Linked DNA regions of Homo sapiens: all the other regions are linked to region 2. The links are contacts of gene promoters, found by promoter capture Hi-C in human tissues and cell types (Jung and others, 2019). All regions are on one chromosome and are shown on one strand. The core of a region is centred on a gene start or on the middle of the fragment in contact, and the rest is flanking DNA. Distances in the headings are between cores, read along the strand shown.

What was found. Contacts are between HindIII fragments. The study calls those that stand out against the background at their distance.
Region 1: a contact is called between a fragment that was not itself captured here and the fragment with the promoter of MNS1 in region 2, in 1 of the 25 tissues and cell types used here (lymphoblastoid cells).
Region 3: a fragment that was not itself captured here is called in contact with the fragment with the promoter of MNS1 in region 2 in 1 of the 25 tissues and cell types used here (dorsolateral prefrontal cortex).
Region 4: a contact is called between a fragment that was not itself captured here and the fragment with the promoter of MNS1 in region 2, in 2 of the 25 tissues and cell types used here (lymphoblastoid cells and mesendoderm cells).

Annotation. Positions count from the first base shown.
Region 1 is chr15:55,987,772-55,991,281 of GRCh38, forward strand. The region is part of intron 1 of NEDD4 (NEDD4 E3 ubiquitin protein ligase); the gene reads right to left. Among named protein-coding and RNA genes, the nearest start is that of NEDD4, 4.1 kb to the right of the region's middle. The HindIII fragment of the contact is 4,583 bases long and covers 1-3,510 here.
Region 2 is chr15:56,463,314-56,467,128 of GRCh38, forward strand. MNS1 (meiosis specific nuclear structural 1) reads right to left here and starts at 1,824. Exons shown (of 10, transcript NM_018365.4): 1 at 1,657-1,824; 2 at 713-934. The coding sequence starts at 1,659. RefSeq lists a silencer at 1,754-2,003. The HindIII fragment of the contact is 6,259 bases long and covers 1-3,815 here.
Region 3 is chr15:56,196,525-56,200,469 of GRCh38, forward strand. All of the region lies in intron 2 of RFX7 (regulatory factor X7), which reads right to left. Among named protein-coding and RNA genes, the nearest start is that of RFX7, 45 kb to the right of the region's middle. The HindIII fragment of the contact is 4,144 bases long and covers 562-3,945 here.
Region 4 is chr15:56,828,542-56,832,008 of GRCh38, forward strand. No RefSeq gene overlaps it. Among named protein-coding and RNA genes, the nearest start is that of LINC03065, 57 kb to the right of the region's middle. The HindIII fragment of the contact is 8,071 bases long and covers 1-3,467 here.

The DNA.
Region 1 (3,510 bases), core at 279-2,778, 480 kb before region 2:
CAGATAGTTGTAGATATGTGGCATTATTTCTGAGGGCTCTGTTCTGTTCCATTGATCTATATCTCTGTTTTGGTACCAGTACCATGCTGTTTTGGTTACTGTAGCCTTGTAGTATAGTTTGAAGTCAGGTAGTGTGATGCCTCCAGCTTTGTTCTTTTGGCTTAGGATTGACTTGGCGATGCGGGCTCTTTTTTGGTTCCATATGAACTTTAAAGTAGTTTTTTCCAATTCTGTGAAGAAAGTCATTGCACACGTATGTTTATTGCGGCACTATTCACAATAGCAAAGACTTGGAACCAACCCAAATGTCCAACAATGATAGACTGGATTAAGAAAATGTGGCACATATACACCATGGAATACTATGCAGCCATAAAAAATGATGAGTTCATGTCCTTTGTAGGGACATGGATGAAATTGGAAACCATCATTCTCAGTAAACTATCGCAAGAACAAAAAACCAAACACCGCATATTCTCACTCATAGGTGGGAATTGAACAATGAGATCACTTGGACACAGGAAGGGGAATATCACACTCTGGGGACTGTGGTGGGGTCGGGGGAGGGGGGAGGGATAGCATTGGGAGATATACCTAATGCTAGATGACACGTTAGTGGGTGCAGCACACCAGCATGGCACATGTATACATATGTAACTAACCTGCGCAATGTGCACATGTACACTAAAACTTAGAGTATAATAAAAAAAAAAATTAAAAAAAAAAAAAAAAAAAGAAAAACTGAGGAAATGTTACAGATTAGAAGAGACTGCAAAGACATGCCACGTAAAAGCAATATATGTTCCCAGATAGGTTCTTAGACCAGAAAAGGAAAAAGAGAAATTATTAGTAACATTTATCAAAATTTGGATGGTATCTGTGGATTGAATGGCATTGTTGTATCAGTGTCCATTTCCTAGCTTGGAAGGGGGTATGGTTGTTATGCAGGAAAGTATTCTTGTTTTAGAAAAATACACACTAGAGTATTTAAAGATGATGGGGCATTGTGTCTGCAGCTTGCTCTCAAGTGGTTCAGAAAAAGATTAATGAAAATGGCAAAAAAAGGTGATGGAACAATTGCAGTGAAAAGGTTAACAGTTGCAGAATCTGTATGAGAAGAATACTGGAGCTCTTTGTGTTGTACTTTCAACTTTTCTGATGGTTTAAAATAATTTTAAAATAGGACGGGCGCGGTGCCTCACGCCTATAATCCCAGCACTTTGGAAGGCCGAGGCAGGCGGATCATCTGAGGTCAGGAGTTCGAGACCAGCCTGGCCAACATGGTAAAACCCCATCTCTACCAAAAATACAAAAATTAGCTGGGCGTGGTGGTGCGTGCCTATAATCCCAGCTACCCTGGAGGGTGATGCAGGAAAATCGCTGGAACCTGGTAGGCAGAGGGTGCAGTGAGCTGAGATCACGCCATTGCACTCCAGCCTGTGTGACAGAGCAAGACTCCGTCTCAAAAGTAAATACATAATTTAAAAATAAATTATTTTAAAAATACACTATATTTATTCACTTCTTTAGTCCCTGCTCCATGAAAAATACTTTACAATGATCCTGGAATTAAAGAGTTGCAAAAAAGCACTAATGGCAAAAACAATACATGAAAGATTGGGAGAAATTACTAATACAGCTGCTGCTTAACCTATGCTTCTCCTCCTTTGTGTGTAGTACATAAAGGTTTGGGAAGTTTGTTCCCAGACTGAGTAAGGGTCAGTTTCTGCTCAGCCTTAGTGGGTCCAGAAGTATCAGAATATGCCCTTCTTACCCTGCTACTTATGCACTGTTGTGGCTGCTGCCACCAGGGGCATCTATTATTCTGTATGTGCAAACTGCACTCTCCATACCGATAGCGGAGACTCTGAACTCTTTCCTCTTTATTTCCTTCCTTCTTTTCCTTGCTTCAGTCAGCCTTTCTTATAGGAAACAGAAATCATTCTAGATGCTTTAAGAAGAAAGAAGCTAATACAGGGGATTAGATGCTTACAAAATTTTTGGAAGAGCTGGAAGAGTAGGTGCTAGGCTGGACTTCTAGAGCAGGGGTCCCCAACCTTAGGAACCAGCCACACAGCAGGAGGTGAGTGGCAGGCCAGTGAGCAAAGCTTCATCTGTATTTACAGCCACTCCTCACCGATCACATTACCTCCGGAGCTCTGCTGCCTGTCAGATCAGCAGCGGCATTAGATTCTCATAAGAGCATGAACCCTATTGTGAACTGTCCATGCAAGCGATCTAGGTTGTGTACCCCTTATAAGAATCTAATGCCTGATGATTTGTCACTGTCTCCCTGTCTCCCATTACCGTCACCCACACTTGGGACCATCTAGTTGCAGGAAAACAAGCTCAGGGCTCCCACTAATTCTACATTACGGTGAGCTGTATAATTACTTCATTACATATCACAATGTAATCATAATAGAAGTAGAGTGCACCATACATGTAATGTGCTTGAATCATCCTGAAACCACTGGACCGCATCCCCGGTCCATGGAAAAACTATCTTCCATGAAACCGGTCCCTGGTGCCAAAACAGTTGGGGACTGCAGTTCTAGAAGATCAGAAACATGGCAGAACTGACCCATCCAGGAAGCTACTACCTCTCCCAGTCAGAAAGGTAGATGATCAGGAGTCATCACCAGAACTGATGACTTCAAGAATATAATCAATCTTGACGTCTGGAAGCCACTACCACCACTACTTCGGTGACTTCCTATCAATATGTACAAAGCAAGTTACCAGATACTGGAATACTTTCGCAGAAAATTTAGATGTTTACATGACTGTGCTTATCAGCAGAAAAAGCCAAAGAAACAAAACAATATGCTCCACCTCATTTCCACTCTGCAAATCTCAAGTAAGTGCACTTAACTGGGGAGCCTACTTTGGATCCAGTCCATTAATTTCAATGGAGTGTGGGAAACAGTGTTTAGTTTTCCCACCTCCATATCACAGGGAGGTGCATGGGAAGGAGGTGGGAAGTGATGCTCAATTCCAGTCCCCGCATCCACCACACTGCTCTCCAATAAAGATCAGTGCATGTTATTCTCTACTGTGAATCTCAAGTGACCAGAGCAAATCTGGTATAAATTATACTACACTTCCTCCTTTGTTTGTTAACACTTTAAAGGTAAAATCCTGCACATGCAGCCAGGGTGATCTCTTACTATAAGTCACTTATATGTGGAAGAAGAGCCAAAACTCACTGAAAAGTGAGAGAAAGGTATTATGATCTACATTTTAGCATACTTCAGTGCTAATATGCTCAGACACTGACTCAGCGACTATTCACTATATACTGATTAAATTACAATTCTTTCACTATCTTCTATCCCATTTCAAATTATTTTTCTCCCTGTTTTAGTTTCAAATTTAAAATAAGAATCCTCTCCTTTTGTTGTAATGAAAAAGCACTTTACTTTTAATCAACAGCAGAGGGCTGCCTATTTCCAGACTAGTCTGTGAGTTTTAGAAGTGACATAGCTGCAATGCTTTCTTCCTTTAACA
Region 2 (3,815 bases), core at 574-3,073:
CTTACATGAACAAAACTGGTAGTAATTACAGAGTTCATATTTATGTTAAAAAAAAATCTGAGTGCTTATTCTGTACCAGGCACTATTCCAAGAGTCTTGCATGTATTAACTCATTATTAAAACAATCCTAAGTAGGAGGTACTATTCTTATTCCCCATTTTATAGAAAAAGCATAAAAAATAAAAGCAGGCTGGGCGCGGTGGCTCACCCCTATAATCCCAGCACTTTGGGAGGCCGAGGCGGGCGGATCACGAGGTTAGGAGTTCGAGATCAGCCTGGTCAATATGGTGAAACCCCGTCTCTACTAAAAATTAAAAAATTAGCCAGGCGTGGTGTTGCGCGCCTATAGTCCCAGCTATTCAGGAGGCTGAGGCAGAAGAATCGCTTGAACCCCGGAGGCAGAGGTTGCAGTGAGCCAAGATCGTGCCACTGCACTGCAACCTGGGCGACAGAGCAAGACTCCATCCAAAAAAAAAAAAAAGTAAAAGCAACTTACTCAAGGGTCCGTAGCTAAGGTATAGCAGTAGTAGGATTCAAAGACAGGCCGGCTCCAGAAACCCAGGTCTTTACGATTACACCGAGCTGAGGCACAATCAGGCATCACTTACCTGCTGCTGTTGTTTATCTACTCATTTCCAGCATTAACAGCTGACTTTCATCGTTTCCAAGGTGCAAAATGAAAAAAAAAGTAACAATGAATAGTAAAACTTACCTTTTGAATGGCCTCTTCCATATCCAACTCAAATTGTTCATTTTGTAATAATCTGAGAAATTGCTTGCGCTGAACACGGTTATCATTTTCATTCTGCACCATTTGATTCCTGATTTGACTGTTGACGTTTTTTAGAGCTTGGACATGTAATTTTTTGCAGTAGTTTTCATCTACTAATTTCTGATGCCTTTCACTACAGCTCAAATTTCTCCTTTTGGAACCCTACGATGGAAGAAAAAAAAAGATGCATATTTTGATATTCCAAAATCTAATTTTAAAAAATGTATTGATATAAACCTTAGTAAGAAAGGATACGAAGAGCCTGGCTTCCTTCCTAAATTCAAAGGAGTATACCGAATAAAAAGTAAACGTGGTAAATATGTTCACATATCGATTAAATAGGTACTGTTATTATTACCTATTTTATAGATGAAACATGAAAAGTAACTTTACCCAAGGTTCTGCAGCTAATAAATAGCTGTGCTAGGATTAATCGCACCCTACAGACCCAGATCTTTACTACCACCAGGGAATTTCTCCTCCCCTCATTCCACCCACCACCACCACCACCACGACTACCACCACAGGGCCATAAAGTGCTGTTCAGAAGCTGGTCAGATTTTCCTAACATAAATGTAATAGGTCAATTCGCCGCTATTTATCAATTCGCTTTCTCCTACACTTTTATATCTACTTATTTCTTCAGAGGTTCTATTGGGCAGATTTAAAGATGTATTTAATACACTATGCGAAAAGTGCCAAAAAAGCTGGAAACCACCGCGAGCGTCCCTTCTAATAGCACCTGAAGCCTCCGAAAGCAAATACAAGTTCCCCAATTAATGACCAGATTAAGCACTTAAAATCCTTTTTTAGAAGCAGATGAGCGCCAAACTAGAATTAAATCAACAATAAACAAGTAGTTTCAAGTCCCCCAACTGGCTCACCATCTTGGCTGACGAAAAATACCCCCTCTCGTGGGACCGCGGCCACCACCTCCCGCCGCAAACGCAGCAGCCAGCAGCCCCAAGGAGCGCACCTGGCTGCGCGCGCTCGGGTGTTTACGCGGCGTCTTGGCAACGGTGGAGCTGCGCGCCCTCCGCTCGACCAAAAGTGACCCACGCAGAACGTGGCCTCCCATTGGACGCGATAAGATACAATCGGCATTGAGCTTCTTAGGACCAGGGCAGGAGGGCTACTTCTATAGGTCTAAACTAGAAAAGCGGGAAGTTCAGACTGTGGCCTGACCCAAGCACTTTGCAGTGGGCTAGGGAAGCTCGATTTCCCTCCAGCGGCCGAACTGTGGTTTCAGTGGGTTTGGGAGCCAAGTTCGGGACTGTGGAGACTGCGCACAGAGAAATACGCAAACTACTGCCTAATGCATGGAGCCGAAGGAAATTTCCACGCATGGAGCATCCCGCACACTAAGTGCCTAGTCAGCCAGGTCTCTGCTAGGGACGATGACTGGTTTAATCCTCAGCAATGGGAGTCCAGGTCGCTGTCCCCTTTGCTGGGTTGTGAGGCACTGAGGGTAGCACGAGCTTCCAGCAGCCTTCACTTCACCCCCCCGCCCCCCCCCCCCCCCCGCAGAAGCTGCTGGTAAATTTTGGGACTAAAATCTATGAGCCACATGAATCTTACTCTGCTATGTGGTCCAGGTACCAAGAGAGAGCACGTTACATGATGGCAGGATGTTGATCTGGTTCATTCCATAGGCAGGTTAGACACTAAAGTCCATTTTAAATGGGAAGTTTAAGAATGATAATGGATCAGAGAAATTAGATATACTGATTTTAGAAATGATACATTCAGAGAAATCTTGTCAACACTAAAATATTTGTATAAGGTGATTAGTGGTATAACTTTGTGTTATTCTAATTTGGAGTCCGTCTTCTGTAGCAATATGTCTGCTTAAAGATTAATAACAAATGGGACTTGCAGTTTCAGTGCTGACGTGTAAAAGCTTGGAAGTTGTCACCCCATCCTTACAACCAGATCAAAACAACTAAAAATCAGCGACTTCTCTTGGTTCCATCATACAACTGAGGTCGCTCGTCTCTCTGTCCTTTGGTCATTTATCCCGTGGTTGCATATCTATGTTGTCTCTAGTACTCCACTCATTGCCATCACTGTTTGAGAGAAATGGAGAGAAGGCGTAAACCTGCCCTCTGGGTGTTCTGTGTAAATTGATCTGGAATGGAGCAAAGCAGGCAGCCTGCTATAAATTTCTCTTCTTGGCATATCCATCTCCGCAAAGGGTTGGGCACTGTATAGAAGAGACAGGAGACAGGCATGGGTTCAGGGTTGAACAGGGTATAACACATTCAATAGAGTGTGGGGTTTAATTTGTTAATTCCTAATAGTGAAATAGTGACATTGCAAAGTATTTCAGCAAACATGTATGTTTTTTACTGTTTACTTCTCGAAATGAAGACTTTCGTCTCTAAAGGGAACTTCAGTTATAATTCCTCATTTCCAGTATACCCTTGGATATGGTAGAAGGATTCATATAATTTCATAGGTAATCTGAGAAAAAGATTTTTGGCCAGAATATTGACCTAAATCCAAGACAAATTTAATCAATTGTAACAATTAGCTGATTTTAACCTTTAAAAAATTATCCTAACAATTACTACATTTTTAATAGACTTTGCTCCTTTTTCGAAGCAGTTTTAGGTTTACAGAAAAATTGACAGAATACAGAGAATTCCCCGTCTCACCTCTCCTCCCCACCGCACCCATACAATTTCCCCTATTTTTAGCATTACATATTAGTGTAGTACATTTGTTACACTTGACGAACCAATATTAATATGATTAAGTTCGTAATTGACATTAGGGTTCACTCTTTGTTTTGTACAGGTCTATGAGGATTTGTTTTGTTTTTTTTCTGAGATGAAGTCTGGCTATGTTGCCCAGTCTGTAGTGCAGTGACATGATCTCGGCTCACTGCAACCTCTACCTCCCAGGTTCAAGCGATTCTCCTGCCTCAGCCTCCCAAGTAGCTGAGACTACAAGCAAATTTTTGTATTTTTAGTGGAGACGGAGTTTCACCAGTTTGGCCAGGCTGGTCTTGAACTCCTGACCTCAAGTCATACACCCACCT
Region 3 (3,945 bases), core at 1,384-3,883, 270 kb before region 2:
ACATAGAAGTGTGGATTCAATTGTGTGTCCAGACCCCTCCCCAAATTTGTATGTTGAAGCCCTAACCCCCAAGTGCTGTATCTGATGGAACGGATACAGCACTCGGAAGGAATCAACCCTGCTGGCACCTTGATCTTCGACCTCAAGCCACCAGAACTGGTAAAAATAAAATAAAATAAAATAAATTTCTATTAAGCCATCAAGTCTGTGGTACTTTGTTATGGTTGCCCTAGCAAACTAATATGCACGGTATTCCATTGCTTTATTTATTCTTTAATAATGGGCTCTTAACGGTATTTCCAGCTCTGTACTGTAACATACAACATTGCAACAAATGTTTGGTATGGAGATCTTGTTATTCATATTGCAGGACTTTTTCTTGGACACATACACAAATATTCGCACACACACTACAGTATGTTGATCTTCAACTTTCTAATTATTGCCAAATTGCCTTTCAAGGTAATTTTGGCCAATCTATACTCCATCAGCTGTGTATAAGACTGATTTCTCTCTATCCTCTCCAAAATTGGTAATGACAGACTTCTGCCAATCGGATGGGTATGAAATATTTTGTTTTAAAATGCATTTTTTTTAATCAGTGATGTTGAACACCTTAATGTATTTGCTGATCACTAAGTTTTCTTCTGTGAATTGCCTACTCATATCCTTTACCCCTTTTTCTGCATGGTGGTTTTTATTATTTTATTTACTAATAGAAGCTCTTTTTATACTTTAGATACTAATCTTTTGTCAACTACTTGAGTTACATCGCCATCAGCGGCATGTTGCTTTTTTTAAACAGTGTTCATTGTCCAAGGAAAATTTTTATTTTAATATAGTCAAATATTTTTCTTTATGAAAAGTGCTTTTGACATGTTTTTAAAAATCTTCCTTACCGTGAGCTCCCAAAGTTATTTTATTTTCTTCTAAACTTTTGCTTTTCACATTTGGGGGCTGAGTTTTTCTGGATTCCATGTGTGATGTGATAGTTTTTTTTTCATATAGATAATGAAATGTCCCAGTGGGCCATCCCTTCCCTTGCACACAAGGCCTATGTCTTGTTAACCTGCTTCCTAAGTCTAGCACTTTGCCTGGTACACGTTAGGCAATTATAAACATGTGACCAATAAAAGGAAGGATGGAAGAAAGAGAAGGGAGAGAAAGGGAAGCAAAGTAGGGATAGGAGTGTGGAAAAAAAGTATTTGGATCATGGTCTTTGATACAAACTATATATTTGAACCACAGAAGTCAAAGGGTATTAAAACAGATTCAAGGGGTGGACTGCAGGAAGATGGGCTTTCCAGGATTCTGGAATGCTAGAGGTAAATATACCACTTAAGTGCATCTGGGCACTGACTCTGCTTTCTCTCCCCCAGGATGAGAATATGGTCTTGCTAGTGCTGAATTAGTTCAAAATCCAGAAAATTGTGATGTTATAAATATCATTTATTAAGTCTTTGCAGAATGTTCAAGAAAGCCTAGGTACAAAAAGGCAATGATATATTCAGAACTTGATACAGCAATGCTAGCTGAACCTTTCTCGTAGGGACGGTGGCTATATGTACCACAGGAAACCTAAAGAGATGGGAAAAACTTTTTTAGATATACTGTATTTGCTGCTATTCAGAATAGTCACTTGGTTTCTACATTCTTAACTAAATAATTTAGGAGCATACAACAGGTGGGTAATAGCCTCTTCCCAACAATCCCTAACCTGAAGTTCAAAGGTGGAATGCTGTAGTGGAGGCAGTATAAAAAAGAAAAAAAAGAATGGGACCTAGAATGACTTTTGCCTCAGACGCCCTCAAAAGAAAAACATCTCTCCCTAGAGCAACGTATGTCTAGTTCAGTATAGTCAAGGAAATATGTTCCATTAGAGTAAAAGGGACTCAGCCTCCCAATGTAAGTACGCAACACCACCTACAAAGTATTCTTGCTGAAATATTGAAACATATCTCTATTTAACTACCAATTTATAGTAATAAAGGGGAAGAGGAATATGCTACATAGCACCATGAAGATAAAATCAGCAAATCCAGACTGTGGGAAACTCCATAGGACAAAGGATCCAATTTCTTCAACAAATAAAAAACTTCAAGAAAAAATTTTTTAAAGGGATCTACAGTTTGAGAGATATCCACCAGTAGCCATAAGGACACTGATTCAAACAAACTGTAAATGTGATATGATGTCTGGGATTCCCTTCAAAATAACCAATGAAGACTTACAGATAAATAAGATTAGCTATGAAACTAATTGTTAAAGTTGAATAATAAAGACCTGAGAGTTCATTGTCTTTTCTCTCCTTTTGTATACATTCGAAATTTTTTACAATGAAAAGTTAAAAGAGGGGACTGGGTGTGGTGGCTCAGGCCTGTAACCCAGCACTTTGGGAGGCCAAGATGGAAGGATCACTTGAGGCCAGGAGTTCAAGACCAGCCTGTTCAACATAGCAAGACCCCATCTCTGACAAAGAAAAAAAAAAAAGTTAAAAGAGAGGAAGGACTTAGCAGATCCTTTTAAAAGGAAAAGCAAATAAACCATGTAGGACCTACAGCTAAGAGACTGCAGTCTGACACCTAAAAACCTTCTGATGTTGATTTAAACTGTGAAAAACTTAAAATTTACAAGAGAAGGCTGTAAATCAAAGATTCAACCACTATAACCAGTCTACTGAGTGACTGTTAATCAGTATTTACTTAAGTTACCACTGAGTGATACTGAAAGAATATTATTTGAAAGTGTAGGATATAATGACTCATTTTTGCTTTCTAATGAGTTATTTTCCTTTTTTGCTGTCCTTCCACGTATAGGTATCTTTCCTTACGTGATTGCTGGTTGCTCCAAATGCTGAATTTTACCATTGTAATATTTAAAAATAGCTAATTTGCTCTAACAGGATTGTAAAAATATGTATTTTGGGGAGGCAGAGTACTGAACAAATTGTGCTGCTCTCTTTAGCCTCAATCTATATGCCTTCCCTGTTTTCTTTAATGCAAGCATTTTCAGGTTGATATTAATATTAAAAGCTCAAAGAGTCAACAGGATTCAAATATGTCAAATAACAGGAAAGCATTTGCACATATAATATACTCCTTAAAGTTAAGAAGATCTTCAAATAAATTTATTTAGTAAGAAACACCATGGTAAATATAGCAGGAACCAAAAACATGGTCTTGACAGGAAGAATTCCAATTCTGCAACTACTAGCTATATGCCCTTGACTTAGAAGAATCATTTTTCCCGAGGCATACTACATCTCGAGTTTTTAAAATAAAGATTCAACATTTACATAAAAAGCCATATTGTAATAACAAGCATGTAATAGGTTCTTAATAAATGCTACATTAAAACTAAATCTAGTCTAACCCTTTCATTTACAAATTAGGATAAAAAATGACTTGTACAAGGTCACACACTGATTTTTATTTGGCTCCATTATCCAGTTAAAAATGCTATGATTATGTCTGATAATAATGCCTCCACTTTACACTGGGATTTTAATCAAGAAGAATATTTTGTGCCCCAGTCTTACCATTTTGGAACTTCCTCTGTCATAGAAACATTATATATTGTCAGTAAATAAGCTGAATTAAAGGTCAGTGCCCTCTAGTGCTGAACCTTCAGAGGTAGGTGCAGGTTCCAAATACAGGCAAATTTACCTAGTCTACAGAACAGGAAACAATCTCCATAAAAATAATGAAATGAAAACATGAGATAGCTACATGCACAGCGACCCATCTGTAAGGATGACTGTTCTCTCTGGGAGATGAGATTTTAAGCCTTTACTTTCTTTTCAAACATTTAAAAAGCTTTTAAAACTTTTTGTTATTGTTTAAGTTTTTATAACATATAAAACATTTAAAAAGAAGCTAAAACACAGGGCAAGATAACATCACTGGATTGCACAGTGGGGAAAACAACTCTTCTTCTCCTACTGCA
Region 4 (3,467 bases), core at 267-2,766, 360 kb after region 2:
CTCCCAAGTATAAAGTTACCAAAAACCCACAGAAAACCTGATGCTTAGTGGTCAAACGTTAGAAGCATTCTCTTTAGAGTCAGGAGCAAGTCAAGAGTGTCTGTTATTACAGCTTCTCTTAACCATTATATTAATATTAAAAGTCCTAGCCAGTGCCAATACTCTTTAAAAGAATAAGAATTAGAAAGAAGGGGAAAAATTGTTCTTATTTATAAACTATCTGATAATTTACATTAAAAATGCAGGAGAGTGTGTAGACAAACAATTCAAACAGGAAAATTCAGCATTCTGAATACATGTTCAGGATATGGTGTGAGAGGAGAAAAAATTTGTGTGTGTGTGTGTGTGTGTGTGTGTGTGTGTGTGCTCTCCCATTTAGAATAGATATCTAGGCAGAAATATCTGCAAGACCTATTTAGGCAAAATTATAAAACACGACATAAAATATGCACTGGATAAATGATGAGACACTGAGGGATGGAAAGATAATTGTGTCAATCTGGCAGATCACCCTGTGAATTTATAATGAATCTATGAATCATTGTAATTCCAACCAGAATCCCAACAAGGCTTCATGGAATTTAACAATCTAACCCAAAAGTTGGTGTGGAAGATTAGACACTCAACTAGCACAGAAATGTTCAAAAAAGAAAACTAAGGAGAGGTGATTTGCCCTACCAGGCTAATTATACAAGGTTATAATTCTTTTAAGAAGTGCGGCTTTGGGGACAGGAATATAAAAATAGGCTGAAAGGGCCTGGCGTGGTGGCTTACACCTGTAATCCCAGCACTTTGAGAGGCCGAGGTGGGAGGATCACTTGAGGTTAGAAGTTAGAGACCAGCCTGGCCAACATGGTAAAACCCCGTCTCTACTAAAAATACAAAAATTAGGTGGGTGTGGTGGTGCATGCCTGTGATTCCAGCTACTCTGGAGGCTGAGGTATGAGAATTGCTTGAACTCGGGAGGCAGAGGTTGCAGTGAGCTGAGATCATGCCACTGCACTCCAGCTTGGGTAACAAAGCGAGACTCTGTCTCAAAAATTAAAAAGTAAAAATAGGCCAAAAGAATGGAATAAAGGGTATAGATACTGACAAATACATACATGGAAAATTGATATGGAACAGAAGTCTCTTACATATCAGCAGGGAGTGGCAAACATTAGCTAAGTGGTCCTAAGACAACTGGCTATGTACAGGGAAAAGGAATTTACATCCCCATTTCATACCACAACAAAATACATCCTACATGGGCTAAAAACCTTAAATGTATGGTAGGGTGACAGGGGGAATCTTAAAATTACAAAGTAAATACAGGAGAATGTCTTCATTACATTTTCAGTTTTCTTAAATAAAATAACAAAAGCATAAATGATAACAGTGATCATTTGAATACATTTAAATATTAAAATTCTATGAAACAAAAGACGCCAGACACAGTGAAAATGCAAGCCATTGGAGAAGTTAATTATAGTATATATTACTGGGTATTAGCATCAAGAGTATTTTTAAATCTCTATAAATGAATAAGAAAAAAGCAAGCAATACAGTAGAAAATTTGTCGATGATATCAACAGTTAATTGTTAGAAGGAAACTAAACAGCCAAAAAACATAAAAGATACTCAACTTCAGTAATAAATGCAAATTAAAACCACAATGAAGTACTATTTCACATCCATCAGAAGGGCAAAATTTAGAAGTCTGAGAAGCCCAAGTGTTGGTAAGGATGTGGAAGAAAAAGAAAAAAAGAACTTGTAAATATGGCTGGTGTGAATGTGTATTGTAGAAAATCACATTGGAGGACAATGTTGCAATATCAAACAAAGTTGATGAGCACATGCTAACCTATGACCTAGCAATTCTGCCTGTGGGTATGTATCCTAAAAAATTCTCACGCATATGCCCAAGGAGAAATGAAATACATTGTTTTTTGTAGCACCGTTTTTAATAGCAAAACATTGGAACCAACCTAAATGTTCAAAAATATAATTGTGGACAGGGCTCAGTGGCTCATACCTTTATCCCAGCACCTTGGGAGACCAATGTGGGCAGGCGGACCTCTTGAGCCCCAGAGTTCAAGACTGGCCTGGGCAACATGGTAAAACTTTGCCTCCACAAAAAATACAAAAATTAGCCCGGCATGGTGGCTCATGCCTGTAGTCTCAGCTACTCAGAAGGCTGAGGTGGGAGGATTACCTGAGCCTGGGGAGATTGAGGCTGCAGGGACCTGAGATCACAACACTGCACTGCAGCCTGGGTGACAGAATGAGACCTTGTCTCCAAAAAAAAAAAAAAAAAGAAAGAAAAAGGGAAAAAAAAGAATGGTGGATCAATAAATGGTGCCAAAGTCACACAATGAAATATCAACTATGTATGTGCAAAATATGTAAGAACCAGGAAGGAAGGATACATGCTAATTTCAGGATAGTGATTATCTCTGGGCAGAGAGCAATGGAATTGGGCAGTGGGTGCTATGGTTAAAATGTATCTGTAATGTTAAAACAAACAAGCAAAAAACTCTAAAGTCAGGCAAGATGTCAACATTGGTTAAATCTATGAAAAACAATAAGCCTGGATCATACTGCAGACTAATAAGAAATGATTTCCAGAACTACTTCAGAAGAGTGTGGGGTGTGGACTACCATGTGTGTAATGCTGAAGAAGAGGATGAGCTTGTTTGTGCAGACTTCCTAATGACACAAAATAAATTGGCAACAGTGATGGCCTCTGAGGGAGAGGGACACAGGAGACTGGCATAAGCAGAGGAAAAAGACCTTTACATCCTTTTTCTATTATTTGCCTGTTTTATCACTTGCATATATTTTCTCAATAGTAAAAAAATTAAAGCAAAAATATATTTTTAATAAAAATGATTCCTACCGCAACAATGCACTTAAAGCCAAAATTACAATTTTGAGGGACATTTTGCATGAAGTATAAGTGTACCCTTATGCTTGCCACCTTCCCAAATGACTGATTTTTCTACAGCGTTCCTGATAATAAGTTCCTTATGATCAGTCACACAGAAACATACACCCTGCCTGCTACATATGCTTTAACTGTGCATCTATTTATATGGGATGACAGATACTTTCCCTAATAAATCTTGCCATTTTCCCTGGTAAGGAACTGTGTGCTGACTAAATGGTTGCTGACACATGGGAGTTATTCCCATAATTTCCTCACACAGTAAGACAAATCAATGCAATGCAGAGCTCTGTTACAGACACTAACAGATTTGGAGCATGTCAGAAAGTGGGGGGGTATATAATGAATCCATGTTTCTAGACTTTCCTACCAGAGACAGCTTGAGGCAATCTGACAGCAAAGGCAGGATCTGAAGTCCTAAACTCAGACATTTTATCTCCGTGAGCTAATTTACAACCAAGAGAGCCACAATACTGTCAGATCTAGAACTCAACTACTTTAAACAGCGACCTTTTGTCTTATATTTTGCATTGATTTTTTT